5 separate regions of the Homo sapiens genome follow, and regions 2, 3, 4 and 5 are each linked to region 1. The links are contacts of gene promoters, found by promoter capture Hi-C in blood cells and fetal thymus (Javierre and others, 2016). All regions are on one chromosome and are shown on one strand. Each heading gives the region's core, a stretch centred on a gene start or on the middle of the fragment in contact. The rest is flanking DNA. Distances are from core to core; before and after follow the strand shown.

What was found. The method cuts DNA at HindIII sites, captures the fragments that hold promoters and counts their contacts. A CHiCAGO score of 5 or more calls a contact.
Region 2: a contact is called between a fragment that was not itself captured here and the fragment with the promoter of CSTA in region 1, in 1 of 17 cell types (monocytes). The highest score is 5.4, in monocytes.
Region 3: a contact is called between a fragment that was not itself captured here and the fragment with the promoter of CSTA in region 1, in 1 of 17 cell types (monocytes). The highest score is 5.0, in monocytes.
Region 4: a fragment that was not itself captured here is called in contact with the fragment with the promoter of CSTA in region 1 in 2 of 17 cell types (total B cells and erythroblasts); the score reaches 5.7 in total B cells.
Region 5: a contact is called between a fragment that was not itself captured here and the fragment with the promoter of CSTA in region 1, in 1 of 17 cell types (monocytes). The highest score is 5.5, in monocytes.

The regions. Positions count from the first base shown.
Region 1 is chr3:122,323,949-122,326,648 of GRCh38, reverse strand. It overlaps CSTA (cystatin A), which reads right to left and starts at 1,401. Exons shown (of 3, transcript NM_005213.4): 1 at 1,291-1,401. The coding sequence starts at 1,356. The HindIII fragment of the contact is 6,914 bases long and covers 1-2,700 here.
Region 2 is chr3:121,810,044-121,812,743 of GRCh38, reverse strand. All of the region lies in intron 5 of IQCB1 (IQ motif containing B1), which reads left to right. Among named protein-coding and RNA genes, the nearest start is that of IQCB1, 24 kb to the left of the region's middle. The HindIII fragment of the contact is 1,387 bases long and covers 683-2,069 here.
Region 3 is chr3:121,777,305-121,780,004 of GRCh38, reverse strand. All of the region lies in intron 13 of IQCB1 (IQ motif containing B1), which reads left to right. Among named protein-coding and RNA genes, the nearest start is that of GOLGB1, 29 kb to the right of the region's middle. The HindIII fragment of the contact is 3,795 bases long and covers 1-2,700 here.
Region 4 is chr3:121,619,045-121,621,744 of GRCh38, reverse strand. It overlaps FBXO40 (F-box protein 40), which reads right to left. Exons shown (of 4, transcript NM_016298.4): 2 at 1,167-1,199; 3 at 1-312. The coding sequence starts at 1,169. Among named protein-coding and RNA genes, the nearest start is that of FBXO40, 27 kb to the right of the region's middle. The HindIII fragment of the contact is 212 bases long and covers 1,145-1,356 here.
Region 5 is chr3:121,793,906-121,796,605 of GRCh38, reverse strand. It overlaps IQCB1 (IQ motif containing B1), which reads left to right. Exons shown (of 15, transcript NM_001023570.4): 10 at 1,040-1,149. Among named protein-coding and RNA genes, the nearest start is that of IQCB1, 40 kb to the left of the region's middle. RefSeq lists an enhancer at 1,600-1,649. The HindIII fragment of the contact is 655 bases long and covers 1,114-1,768 here.

The sequences.
Region 1 (2,700 bases), core at 152-2,651:
CTCTTGAAAGAGAAATAATTAGTCCCCAAGAATGAGTGATGGGATTCTAGGCATCTGGCCCCTTAGAGAGCTTTCTAGTTCCCAGAATATACAGGATCCCAACTCTTATAATCACACAAAAAGCTGATCTTGTTTTCCAAGCTGTCATAGAATGATGTTTCAGAGAGAAAAAATAAGAAGGAATAATATAAGAAAATAAGGCAACAAACTAAAAACCTAAAGTAGTAATTTGTACATGTTTTCCTTTCATAAAATATGCAAATAAATGTTTACTACATAGCTAGATGATAGCTAATCACACAAAGAAAAATATATCAGGGATGGGTGTGGTGGCTCACGCCTGTAATCCCAATACTTTGGGAAGCCTAGGTGAGTGGATGGCTTGAGCCCAGGAATTCAAGACCAGTCTAGCAACAGAATGAAATGCCATCTCTAAAAACAAAACAAAACAAAACCCCCCAAATCAGCCAGGCGTGGTGGCATATGTCTGTAATCCCAGCTACTCAGGAGGCTGAGTGGGGAGGATCGCTTGAACTCAAAAAGTTGAGGCTACAGTGAGCCGTGATCAGACCATTGCACTCCAGCCTGGGTGACAGAGTGAGACCCCATCTCTTAAAAATGAAACAAAACAAAACAAAAAAGAAGAAGTGAAAAACACATCAATCTGCTAACAACATTGAGTTCTATTTTTCCATATATAATTTGGTGCCCTATGACATTTCGGAGTCACTATAGACTGTCACCTCTGTTCTATTAGTTGAATTACCTTTTAACTATGAAAAGACTAAAACACTATCTATTTGGGCAAAAGTGTATGAAGTTTGTAAGTAGATTGCCTTTACAATATTATTCTTCATTCAATCTATTTAAAAAAATTTTCCCTGCAGTGCATTCCAAGACTACTTCATCAAATTGTTAATAACCTTAGACTTCAATTACACGTTGGCTTCACTTGGTGAGATTAGAAAAGTTTCATCAGAAACTGAATTAGTAATTCTAGAATCATATCTTGTAAGAGCTTTAGAGAAGATACAATACAAATTCTTTTACCCATGGAGAAAATGAAGCTCAGAGAAGAAATGTGATTTGCTCAAGGTCACACTCACAGTTTGGGGATTATTTGAGGCTTCATCTGAAAAACTCTTATTTCATCTTAGTTGTAAAGAAACCTGAACAAAGCCACAAACATCCTAAACTTCTGGTTTTCATGTTCAACCACAGCCTTTCCACAGGGACAACTTATGAATCAAGATTTTGGCTCAGACTTTTTCCTGAATGGCATCAACTCACCTTATCAACAATCTCCTGGATTTCTGGAGTGGCGGGTTTGGCCTCAGATAAGCCTCCAGGTATCATTTTGGCTGATTGCTTCTTTGCTGGACAGGATGCTGGAACCAAAGTGAACAGGGAAGTGTGGAGACTCGTGTTTTAAAAGAGGCGTTCACTAGCTCCGCCTATAGAATGCTTTATTTTCCACAAACAGCAAAGAGGCATGGGGAAAATGAGTATGCCGCCAGGCAAGTCTTCTTGCTTCCTGGAGAGAATATGCTACATGGAATTTGGAAGAAAGAGGGGTTGGAGGATGAACAAATGGGCAAGTACAGGAGTCATGTCCTAACAAGCATCAAACGTCCCTGCATTCTCTTTGACAATGGTTCCATCCTGTTGCATCATCTGAATTATGAAATCTGAAGCCGCAACTAGAATTTCCAAATGTTTTAAAACTTCTAACACAAAATTTTATTTTTTTTAAAGCAAAACTTACTAATAATGTCAAGGTTAGTTTAGAATTTACTTGACTTTAGAAAGAAAGCAAAAGGATCTATCTGGAGGACCTTGGCTGGATGTGTCTTCTTTACTCTTATTTAAATATCTGGAAATGTTTAACATACGGTAAAACACAAAGAATAAAATAACAAACATCTATATTTCTATCACTCAGAATTAAAACTTTTAACCCTTTTGTCATATTTGCTTGCTGTTTTTTATTTTTGTAGTTATTTTTAGGAAATAAAATATTACAGATATGGAGGAAGCCCCACACCCCACGCAACCTTGCCTTCCAGAAGGCAAAGTACATGGTGAATTAATATCCTTCCAGGCCATTTTTATATGTGTGTCTTTAAAATTAAAATATGTCTTACTTGGTGTGTCTTTAAAATTTCACTTAAATTGTATGCTAAATATATTCTATGTTATGTTCCTTTTTCTATTCAACATGTTTTTGAGCCTTTCTATGTTGATATACACATAGATCAATCCACAGATAGATCAATCCTGTTCATTTCCTTTAACTGTGATATGCTATTTTATGCTAGACCTATCTATTTAGTCTACCTATCTAATTGCTATATTCTAGTTCATATTTTACATACTCATTTCTCTATTGATGACGATTTTCGTTGTTTCTGGTGTTTCATTCTTACAAACAACGTTGCATTTTTTCTCCTTTTTACATGAGTGAGGGCTTCTGCAGACAACTTATCTAGAAGCAAAATGGCCACATTGTGTGAATATTTATGTATATTATTTTATTCAATTTTGGGAATATATAATACATACACAGGATAAAAATGTTTGGAAGGAACCAGGCTTTACAATATAAGGAATTATTCACTCACTTAATTCCTCAGACACCCTTCTACTCTCCAGAGACAATTATTGGCACCAACTTCTTCTGTATCCTTCAGAGACATTCTT
Region 2 (2,700 bases), core at 127-2,626, 510 kb after region 1:
GTTCATTTCTTTTCATTCTTCTTTCTCTAATCTTGTCTTCACACTTTATTTCATTAAGTTGATCTTCATTCTCTTATATCCTTCCTTCTGCTAGATCAATTTGGCTATTGATACTTGTGTATGCTTCATGAAGTTCTCATGCTGTGTTTTTCAGCTCCATCAGGTCATTTATGTTCTCCTAAACTGGTTATTCTAGTTAGCAATTTGTCTAACCTTTTTTCAATGTTCTTAGCTTCCTTACACTGGGTTAGAACATGCTCCTTCAGCTCAGAGGAGTTTGTTATTACCCACCTTCCGAAGCCTACTTTTGTTAATTATCAAACTCATTCTCAGTCCAGTTTTTGCCCTTGCTGGGGAGGAATCGCGATCATTTGGTGGAGAAGAGGCGTTCTGGTTTTTGGAATGTTCAGCCTTTTTGTGCTGGTTTTTCCTCATCTTCATGGATTTGTCTACCTTTGATCTTCGATGCTGATGACCTTTGGATGGGGATTTTGTGTGGGTGTCCTTTTTGTTGATGTTGATGTTATTGCTTTCTGTTTGTTAGTTTTCCTTCTAACAGGTCCCTCTTCTGCAGGTCTGCTGGAGTTTGCTGGAGGTCCACTCCAGACCCTGTTTGCCTGGGTATCAGCAGCAGAGGCTGTAGAACAGCAAATATTACTCACACCTCCTTCCTCTGGAAGCTTCGTCTCAGAGTGGCACCTGCCTGATTCCTGCCAGAGCTCTCCTGTTTGGAGGTGTCTCCCAGTCTGGAGGCACAGGGTCAGGGACCCACTTGAGGAGGCATTCTGTTCCTTAGCAGAGCTCTAGCACTAACAAATTCAAATTCAGTATATCAACTGTGCTGGGAGATGCGCCGCTCTCTTCAGCGCTGGCAGGCAGGAACATTTAAGTCTGCTGAAACTGCACCCACAGTCTCCCCTGTCCCCAGGTGCGCTGTCCCAGGGAGATGGGAGTTTTATGTATAAGCCTCTTACTGGGGCTGCTGCCTTTGTTTCAGAGATGACTTGCCCAGTGAGGAGGAATCTAGAGAGGCAGTCTGGCCACAGCTGCCTTGCTGTGCTGCAGTGAGTTCCACCCAGTCCAAACTTCCCAGTGGCTTCCTTAACACTGTGAGGGGAAAACTGCCGACTCAAGCCTCAGTAATGGTGGATGCCCTTCCCACCACCAAGCTCAGTTGTCCCAGGTTGGTCGACTTCAGACTGTTGTGCTGGGAGCGAGAATTTCAAGGCAATGGTTCTTAGCTTGCTGGTCTCCGTGGGAGTGGGACCCGCTGAACAAGACCTCTTGGCTCCTTGGTTTCAGACCCCTTTCCAGGGGAGTGAACAGTCTGTCTTGCTGGGGTTTTAGCCACCACTGAGGTACAAAAAGAAACTCGTGCAGCTAGCTCAGTGTCTGCCCAAACAGCTGACCAGTTTTGTGCTTGAAACCCAGGGCCCTGGTGGTTTAGGCACACAGGGAATCTCCTGGTCTGTGGGTTGCAAAAACCATGGGAAAAACGTAGTATCTGGGCCAGATAGCACAGTCCCTCCCTTCCCTTGGCTAGGGGAGGGAGGTCCCCAGCCCCTTGCACTTCCCAGGTGAGGCAATGCCCCACTCTGCTTCTGCTTGCCATCTGTGGGCTGCGCCCATTGTCTAACCAGTCCCAATGAGATGAACTGGGTACCTCAGTTGGAAATGCAGAATCACTGCCTTCTGCATTGCTATTGCTGAGAGCTTCAGACCAGAGCTGTTCCTCTTCAACCATCTTGCCAGATCCCCCTGGCAGAGAATTTAACTCAGTGGTAGAGCATATGTGTTCCATGTAACAGGTTACAAATTCCATTTCTGATATCTCCACTGGCATTTTGTGGGATGTTAGCACTAAATAAATATTTGCTAGATTTAGTTTAATTCAGGTTAGTTGAAGCCACATAAACTATAGGAATTGTGTTGGATTTGATTTCTTTTGCTGGCTGTGCCACAAACTAACTCTAGGTTCTATAGCAAATCACTGGATTTCACTGTATCTCATTTTCCTCATTTGTAAAATAATTTCTGTCCCATTAATAGCTCAGACCATTATGTAAGCTTTATCTTTTCTTCAAAGCACCTTTATTTAATATTCCTATTTAAGAGCATTAATAATTCTTTTTCCTTATATATTATTAAAATTATGTATTAATATGTTATGTATTTGTATATTACTTTCATTATAAATATACTTATTCAGTTAATTATTTTCATTTATAGAATCCTTAATACTTTTCATAATATTTTTCTGTCCTTTATTATTGTATTTTTATTGAGATAAAGATTCTTTAATGTTATCCAAGAATTAATTGGCTACAGAAAAAGTAAGGCCACTTAACCACAGGGCAAAATTAAAACAGGGGCATAAAAAAGATGTGGCAAAAACTTGAATTAATTTATTAGTCTATTTACCTAGGAGCTTTTCAATCAGATTTTTGTTTTAATTAGATAGTACATAGTTAGTAGATCATATGGTGGGACATACACGTTCTGACCTAAAATACAAAGTGGTTTTGTGTGAGTATATGTGAGAATTTCGATTTAAAGGTAAATTTTGTTAACCTGCCTCAAGAACCATGAATTTGTGGGTGACATTATCTAATGTGCATTTTAAGGAAAGTAGGAAGTCTAAGAGTACAACACTATCTTTTGGGATTGACAACAATGAGAATTACCATGCCCTTTCTGATG
Region 3 (2,700 bases), core at 53-2,552, 550 kb after region 1:
AATTATCGAGTCATCTGAAAAGGTAAGACGGAAGTGTGTCTGGAACTCACATAGGTCCAGGAATAGTATCTGTTCCCATCAAATATGCTGGAGAAACTCATAATTCACAGGGTATTGTGAAGAGTACTCAGGAAGACCTTCCCTTAATAGTAGATTATGATTAGCCTAGACGGCTCCATTCTGCCAAACAAATTATAAAATCAAGAGTCAAAAAAAGATTAAAATGTTTTCATGTAATTTAACAGCATCCCAAAAAAAGACTCAAAATTTTAAGAAATATCAAAATATCCAGCACCCAACAAGGTAAAAGTCACAATGTCTAGCAGCTAATCAAATATTAAAGGCATGCATGGAAGTAGGAAAACAGGACCCATAATGAGGAGGATATTCAGTCAAACCAACCCAGAAATTACATAGATGTTAAAATTGGCAGAGAAGGGCATTAAAACAGTCATTATAACTGTATTTTATATGTTCAAAAAGTCAAGTAGAAAGATGAAAAATGTAAAAAAAAATACCTGAATCAAACTCCTAGAGATAAAAACTTCAAAGTATGGTGTGAAAAATATACTTGATCAAAATAATAGCAGATTAGACTTTGCTGGATGGAAGATTAATATAGGTGAAGCCATACTAGTAGATACTGTACAAAATGAGTCACAGAGAGGGGAAAAAAGAGAAAAATATTTGAAAAGACCATTACTGAGCTGTGGGACTGTAAGTGGCCCAGTAAATGAAAACTTGGAATCCCTGAAGGAGATGTAGAGAAAAATAATGGCTGAAAACTTTCCAAACTAAAAATGATAAGCCCATACCCAAACCAGTTAAGGTACATGGAAAAAACTGTGCCAAGGAATATCATAATCAAAATTGTCAAACCAGTGATACAGTGAAAATCTTAAAAACAAAAAAAAATTTTTATATATATACTTTTTATTATACTTTAAGTTCTAGGGTACATGTGCACAAGGTGCATGTTTGTTACATATGTATACATGTGCCATGTTGGTGTGTAAAAAAATTTTTAAATGTTACGTAAAGACAAAGATTACATTGCTCAGTAGGAACAGTGCAAGCAAGAAGATACCTTTTTTTTTTTTTTTTTGAGACAGAGTTTCGCTGTTGTCACCCAGGCTGGAGTGCAGTGGCGCAATCTCTGCAACTGCCGCCTCCCGGGTTCAAGTGATTCTCCTGCCTCAGCCTCCCAGGTAGCTAGGATTACAGGCGCCTGCCATCATGCTCAGCTAATTTTTGTACTTTTGGTAGAGATGGGGTTTCACCATGTTTACCAGGCTGGTCTCGAACTCCTGACCCCAGGTGATCCACCCATCTCAGCCTCCCAAAGTGCTGGGATTATAGGCATGAGCCACCACCCCCGGCGAAAGATATCTTGCTTTAAAGTACTGAAAGGAAAAAAAGTTGTCAACCTAGAATTCTGTACCTGGCAAAAAAATATTGTTAAAAAAAAAAAGACTTTTTCAGACATACAAAAGCTGAAAGACTTGATCACCAGTACACTTGCACTACCAAAAATGTTAAATCCTTAAAGTTGTAAAGGATTTAACATTGCAGAAATGTTAAATTCTTTTTATTTGTGTAGATTGAGGGAGTAAAAATGCACATTTACATGCCTATATTGCAAGCTCCTGCCCAGCAAAATAAACAGTCAACAGTAAACAGCCTATAGAATGGGAAAAAATAGTTGCAAGCTATACATCTAACAAAGGGCTAATATCTAGAATCTACAAGGAACTCAACTCAAGAAGAAAAAGACAACCCCATTAAAAAGTGGGCAAAGCCAGATGCTGTGGCTCATGCCTGTAATCTTAGCACTTTGGAATGCCAAGGCCAGGAGGATTGCTTGAGCCCAGGAATTCGAGACCAGCTTAGGCAACATGGTGAGACCTGGTCTCTACAAAAAATTTAAAAATTAGCCAGGCATGTTGATGCCTGTCTGTGGTCCCAGCTACTTGGGAGACTGAGGTGGGGCGATCACTTGAGCTCAGGAGGTTGAGGCTGCAGTGAGGCATGTTCATGCTACTGCACTCCAGCCTGTGTGGCCGAGTGAGACCCTGTCTCAAAAAAAAAAAAAAAGTGGGCAAGAAACATGAACAGACGTATATACAAGTGGTCAACAAACAATGAAAAATGCTCAATATCACTAATCATCAGAGAAATGTAACTTAAAATCATAATAAATAATCATATTATACCAGTTAAAATGGCTATTACTACAAAGTCAAAAACAACAGATGTTAGCAAGGATGTGGAGAAAAGGGAACACTTACACACTGTTGGTGTGAATGTAAATCAGAAATGTTAAGTTCTTTAAGGTGTAAAAGACTTAACATTTCTGTTTAAAATGATGCCAGGAAAAGATACCAGAGAGAAATCTGGCTCTACATAAAGAAATTAAGAGCACTGGAAATGGTAATTACAGCCATGTGTCACATAATGAATTTTCAGTCAGTGTTGGACCATATATACAACAGTGGTCACATAATATTGTAATGGTATATTTTTACTGGACATTTTCTACATTTATATATGTTTACATATACAAAAACTTACCATTGCATTAAAATTGCTTACTGTATTCAATACAATAACATGCTGTACAGATTTGTAGCCTAAGAGCAATAGGGTATACCACATAGCCTACATATGTAGTAGTCTATACCATTTAAGTTTCTGTAGGTA
Region 4 (2,700 bases), core at 1-2,500, 700 kb after region 1:
CACATTTGGCCAGCGGTTCCACTCCATGGAGCAGCAGACCACGCTGGCGGGGCACACCTGCAGGTGCTTGGCCAGTTTGTGGCGGGACATGGACAGAGGGCAGCCATATTCGGAGTTGAGGCACGGAACCTGCTCTAAAGGGCAGAGGAGCTGGTGCTCTGCCTCTTTGCACATGTGGAAGGTGGCACCACAGAGCAGGTGGCAGCTTATTACCAGGCAGGAGGTGTTGGGTTCCACAGGAATGTGGCAGTGGCGGTTGAAGCATCCCTCACAATGCCTGTGGTGCCCTGGCGGGGATCTGCGGGCTTTCCCCTGGACACACCAAGGACAGGGGGAAGAAAACAAATGAATACTGAGGAGAAGCTCTATGCATGTCTATGACTGTGTTTTAATTGACATATTTCCTGTTTATACCTGCTTTTTGTAGAAACCTTGAAATATATGGAATATCACAATCCCACAATCCAGAAATAACAACTATAAGTACTTTTTAGAATTTTCCAATAGTTTATTATATATATGTAGTAGATGTGTTTAGAATAGGAAAAAAAGAATTGAATATAATGGACTACACTGTTGACAATTGTTATTTTTGAGTTGTGGATTACAGGTTATTTATATCATACGGATAATACTATGAATACAACTTTTCATCCTGCTTTTTATCTTGCTATTAGAACATGAAACTAGATTGTTTTATTAGTTATTCTTTACAAACTTTCTTCATAATGGCAGTGTAACATTCCGGAATATGGGTGTGCTATCATTTAATCAACTACCACCAGAGTGCGGGCTGGGAGGACAGCAGCCATGTCTGGTTTTGCTCGCATTTATGTCCCTAGCATCTAGCATGGGACCTGGACCTTTGTGGGTATTCAATGCTTGCTGAATGAAGGAATTGCTAGCCATTTAGATTATTGCTGGCTTTTTGACTATTTTATTTAAATTTTCACTTAAACTCTTTGCTCAAAAATCCTTCTCAACTGTTTTCCCCTTACTCTGTGTCAATTTCTTCCAAGTTCTGTTCAGCATCTCTAGTTTGGAAAAAAGTTGATAAATATCATCAAACCATAAGAGCAAGTCTGCTAGCTGCTTGGGCTACAGGATAAATGAAGGAAGACCTGGACCTCTCAATGGTGAAGCTTCAATAAGCTCCTGGTGCTTACCATGGCGCCCCAATTTCTTCTTGCTTCTTAGCTCTACGGGAAAATATGAATATAAATAATTAGTAAGAAAAACAGTTAGGTTACCTATATTAATAGAGGCTAAAGAGACTTCACACACTATCTCATTTAATTCCTTCCACCATCCTGGAGGTGTCTTTATCTCCATGTTTGAGTCAAGGAAACAGAAGCTTGAAGGTAAGTAACTTGTCCAAGGTCACACAGCTGCTAAGTGATGGAATCAGCTTTGTAATCCAGGCCATGCTGGCCCATGTTATTTTCACTGACCCCCGCTGCCCTCTGATAGGGCATATTACCAATCATGGGATGTTAACTTCTGCTTCCTATAACTTTCTCCATTGTCTGCTGACAATTATCCTGGCATCCTAAACACTCTGCTACCCACAATCTGGCCTAGGTTACCTTCTAATCTTCTCTTCCACTGGGGCTTCCTGTCCACTTAGAGGTTAGTCTGAGATCTAACTTTGTCTGGGGCAGTGTATAGGTGTCTGTGAAATATCTGTAACATGCCATTTCCCCTGGTATATTCAGCTGTGCTAGAGCAGGGGTCAAAACCCCAAAGGTCCCAGAAGTTGACTGAATGGAGACTCTGGCAAGTGAAAGAGAAAATGCCCTGTCTTCAGGGAAATGAAATTTCTCAGCCCTGGTTAATTGATGCCATGTGGGAATGTGTTGCCAGACCTGGTTTTTCCAGAGACAGTGGGGATGCGGACTTTTGTGAGCTGTGATATGGTTTAGTGGTTAGAAGGCAGACTGCACAGGTTTCCACCCTGGAGCTACAAGTCAGTGGCTGTGAGACTTTGGGAAATTTACTTCACTTCTTCGCTCATCAGTTTCCCCATCAGTAGAGAGAGGATAATAATAGTACCTATCCCATAATGCTGCTGTAAGGAGTAAATGACCTAAATATACATGAAACTCTTAGAACAGTGCTTGTTTCACAGGCAGTGATCTATACATGTTTGCTATTATAAAGTAGTATTTTATATTTCATCACAATGCAAAATATTTTACTACATAATATATCGAAATAAAAATACTCTGAATTTTAAATGTTAACAACTAACTTAATTTAAAACAACACTATTTGAGCCAAGGAAAAATGTGAATGCTGGCCAGATAGGATCTGTAGGTTGCCAGTTTGCAATATCTGGTCTACAGAATTTGTAACATAATTTCAGCACAGTGTTAGTCTGTGATGGAGTGGGGAGGTTAGCATCCAAATGTCAGAAGATCCATAAGTTTAAAATTTGGCCAGGCGCAATGGCTCACACCTGTAATCTCAGCACTTTGTGAGGCTGAGGTAGGTTGATTGCTTGAGCCCAGGAGTTCAAGACCAGTCTGAGAAACATAGCGATACCCTGTATCTACTAAAAAAAAAAACAGTTAAAAAATTAGCGGGGCATGGTGGTGCACGCCTATGGTCCCAGCTACTTGAGAGTGACACTGACGTGGGAGGATCGCTTGAGCCTGAGAGGTCAAGGCTGCAGTGAGCTGTAATGACACCACTGCACTC
Region 5 (2,700 bases), core at 192-2,691, 530 kb after region 1:
TTGAGATACAACAATAATGCCTTTTCCTTTGTGTAAGAAATGGTATTAATAAAATTATTTAGAAATTTGAGGCAGCAAGTTATTGATTATTTCATCATACTTCCTCTAGCATACTCAAAATGATGGCTCTAAATAGCCCATTCAACAGGAAGAGGCATATTGCTTTCTGATTTCCAGATAAAGACTTAAATATGGAAAACATCTAAAATGACTAAAGATATTTTTTAATTTAAAAGGAAAAGGGGACATTGTATATCCAAAATCCAAAACCAAAAAGACAATAAATTTAAAAATACAAGCAGAAACCATGAAAATAAGTCCAGTAAGGCAGGAGAATGGGTTGGGGGAGGCTGGAAGGAAGAGTGCAGAAGAAGGGAATTCCTTTTTTCTGTATATATGAACCATCGTGAGTTTAGATTAATCTCAAAACTATGCATATGCTCAAATTCATATTGATTAGGTAACAAAATCATAAAACTATATTTTATTATTAATAGTTGTACCCTTTGCCATTCCATTTGAGGACTCAGAAGTCTATTAAGTAAACAGGAGACTGGGACAGAATTCAGTCAAGAACTCAGACAGCTCACTGACCTTTTAAGCCCAATGGTCTATCAGGAGAATAGCATATCAAAAGCTTACAGAACTAAACAGAGATTCGAGCAACCATCCACAATGGTCAACAGAGCTTATAGTTTGAACCTAACTAGGTTGATTGCCTATTAAGTAAAAACATTAACATGTTAGCTCAAAAAAGATTATGAAAGGTCAGGCGGACTATGAAATCTTTGAAAAGGAAATGGAAGTGAGATTATTCTGGGAGAATTTGGAGCTAACTAGACTATATCTTGAGTATGTTCTAGAAATTGCCTTACCAAGCCTAACATACCTCCTTTGGGAGGTAAGGTTTAATATTCTTACCCATCTTGTTAGAGCTAGAGATTAATATTTGCCCTAACCTGATACTTTAAGAGGTAAACTTTTTTTTTTTTTTAAAGACCTTCCTAGAGATATCTCTAAATTATTTTCGGCATTTCAGAAACTACATCAAGCAGCATGCTTGATTCAAGCCTATTGGAAGGGTTTTCAGACAAGAAAGAGATTAAAGAAGCTTCCATCTGCTGTGATTGCTTTGCAGAGGAGTTTCAGGTAAAAAAATTTGGTGAGGGGATTGATGATCATAGAATCTTACTAGAGTACAGTTGAATTGAAATTTAGGTGATTTTTTTTTAATTTCCTAGTATGTTTCTTGTTATCTTTTCATTTTTTTTCCATACGTTTCTGGGTACCAACACTCCAGTAACCAGATGCACTTTCAAAGCAAAGGATGTAAGACAGGAATCTGATGTGTCAAATATGCAATCCTATCCACTTAATAAGATATTTGGGGAGGGGCCAAGCCTACAAAGGGAGCCAATGATAGTTATATTATTAAACCCTCTAAACCAACAGTTATCATAATTTCGTGTGTATAATTATAACAATAACATGTATGCGTATAAGAGTTTAAGTCTGTTAACCTGATTTTCCTGAATAAATATGGCATGGATGGATATCTTCATTGAATTATGATATAGTTCGGCATTTATTTCAAGTAGACTGAAAAGGAAATACTGAAGACATAGCCCACTTTCTGCAATGACTTAACCAATCCAGATCCTCCAAGGTCACAGAACAAGAAAAAATAACTTAGCTTCTAGGTAATTTATGGTAAAGAAGATCTGTTTCAGAGGTGACTTTTTCATGCAGCCTAACTTAAAGCCAAGCTTTAGTTTGCTAAAATGAAACTGGCATTTTACAGAAGTTAATTCTTTAAAGAAAACTGAAACTATTCTTTTAATAACTGCAGATGCATTTCTCAGTTATAAAAACATTTAAAAATAGCTCTGGGGTTCAAAATACTATGTAGTCACAGAGTTGAAGACATTGAAATCACTCTAGCTAACTGTGTCTCTTAGTGGGTATCCTATTAATTGATGAACGTTTTCTTCAGGGAAGAATTAAAGATGGATTTTAAATATTATTGGGCATGAATATTGTTGGTAGCAAAGAAAAGAATTAATTTTTAAATATATATCAAATGCCTAGTATATGATATATGTACTAGGCATTTAACAGATTCGAGTTTGTATCTCACTTGAGCAGCTTACTGGTTGAGTGAACTTGGACAATCCCCCACCTCTCTCAGCCTCAAACTTCCAATCTATAAAATGAGAATAATAGTTTATACACTTGTATGATCAAGATAATGTAAAATTTGAGATAATACAAAGTTTTTAGCATATTATCTGGCACTTAAAAAATGATAGAAGGAAAAATGCATATGGCACATTTTCTGTCCTTGAAAATTTACAAATCTAGGTAAACAAATAGATGCATTAAATAGGTAGTACTAATGAGAAGCAAGTATTATCCATCTATTATTACTCAAAGTTTATTGCCTATCTTACAAGCTGTTTTTTTTTTAAAAGCATTTCTGTGGTTAGATAAATTTGGGAAATATTGAGTACTTTTTGAGTCACAGTGTATATTTTTCTACCCAAAGCATCTGAGGTGCTCTTGGTATTGCCTCTGTGGTGAATTCAGATAGAGTAGGTATTACTTATGGATTCCACCTGCTATCATCCTTAGTTACCTGTCATCTTAAATTTAAGGGTACCCTTATACATGGATTCAGAGCATTAATGTTTAGTCCCACAA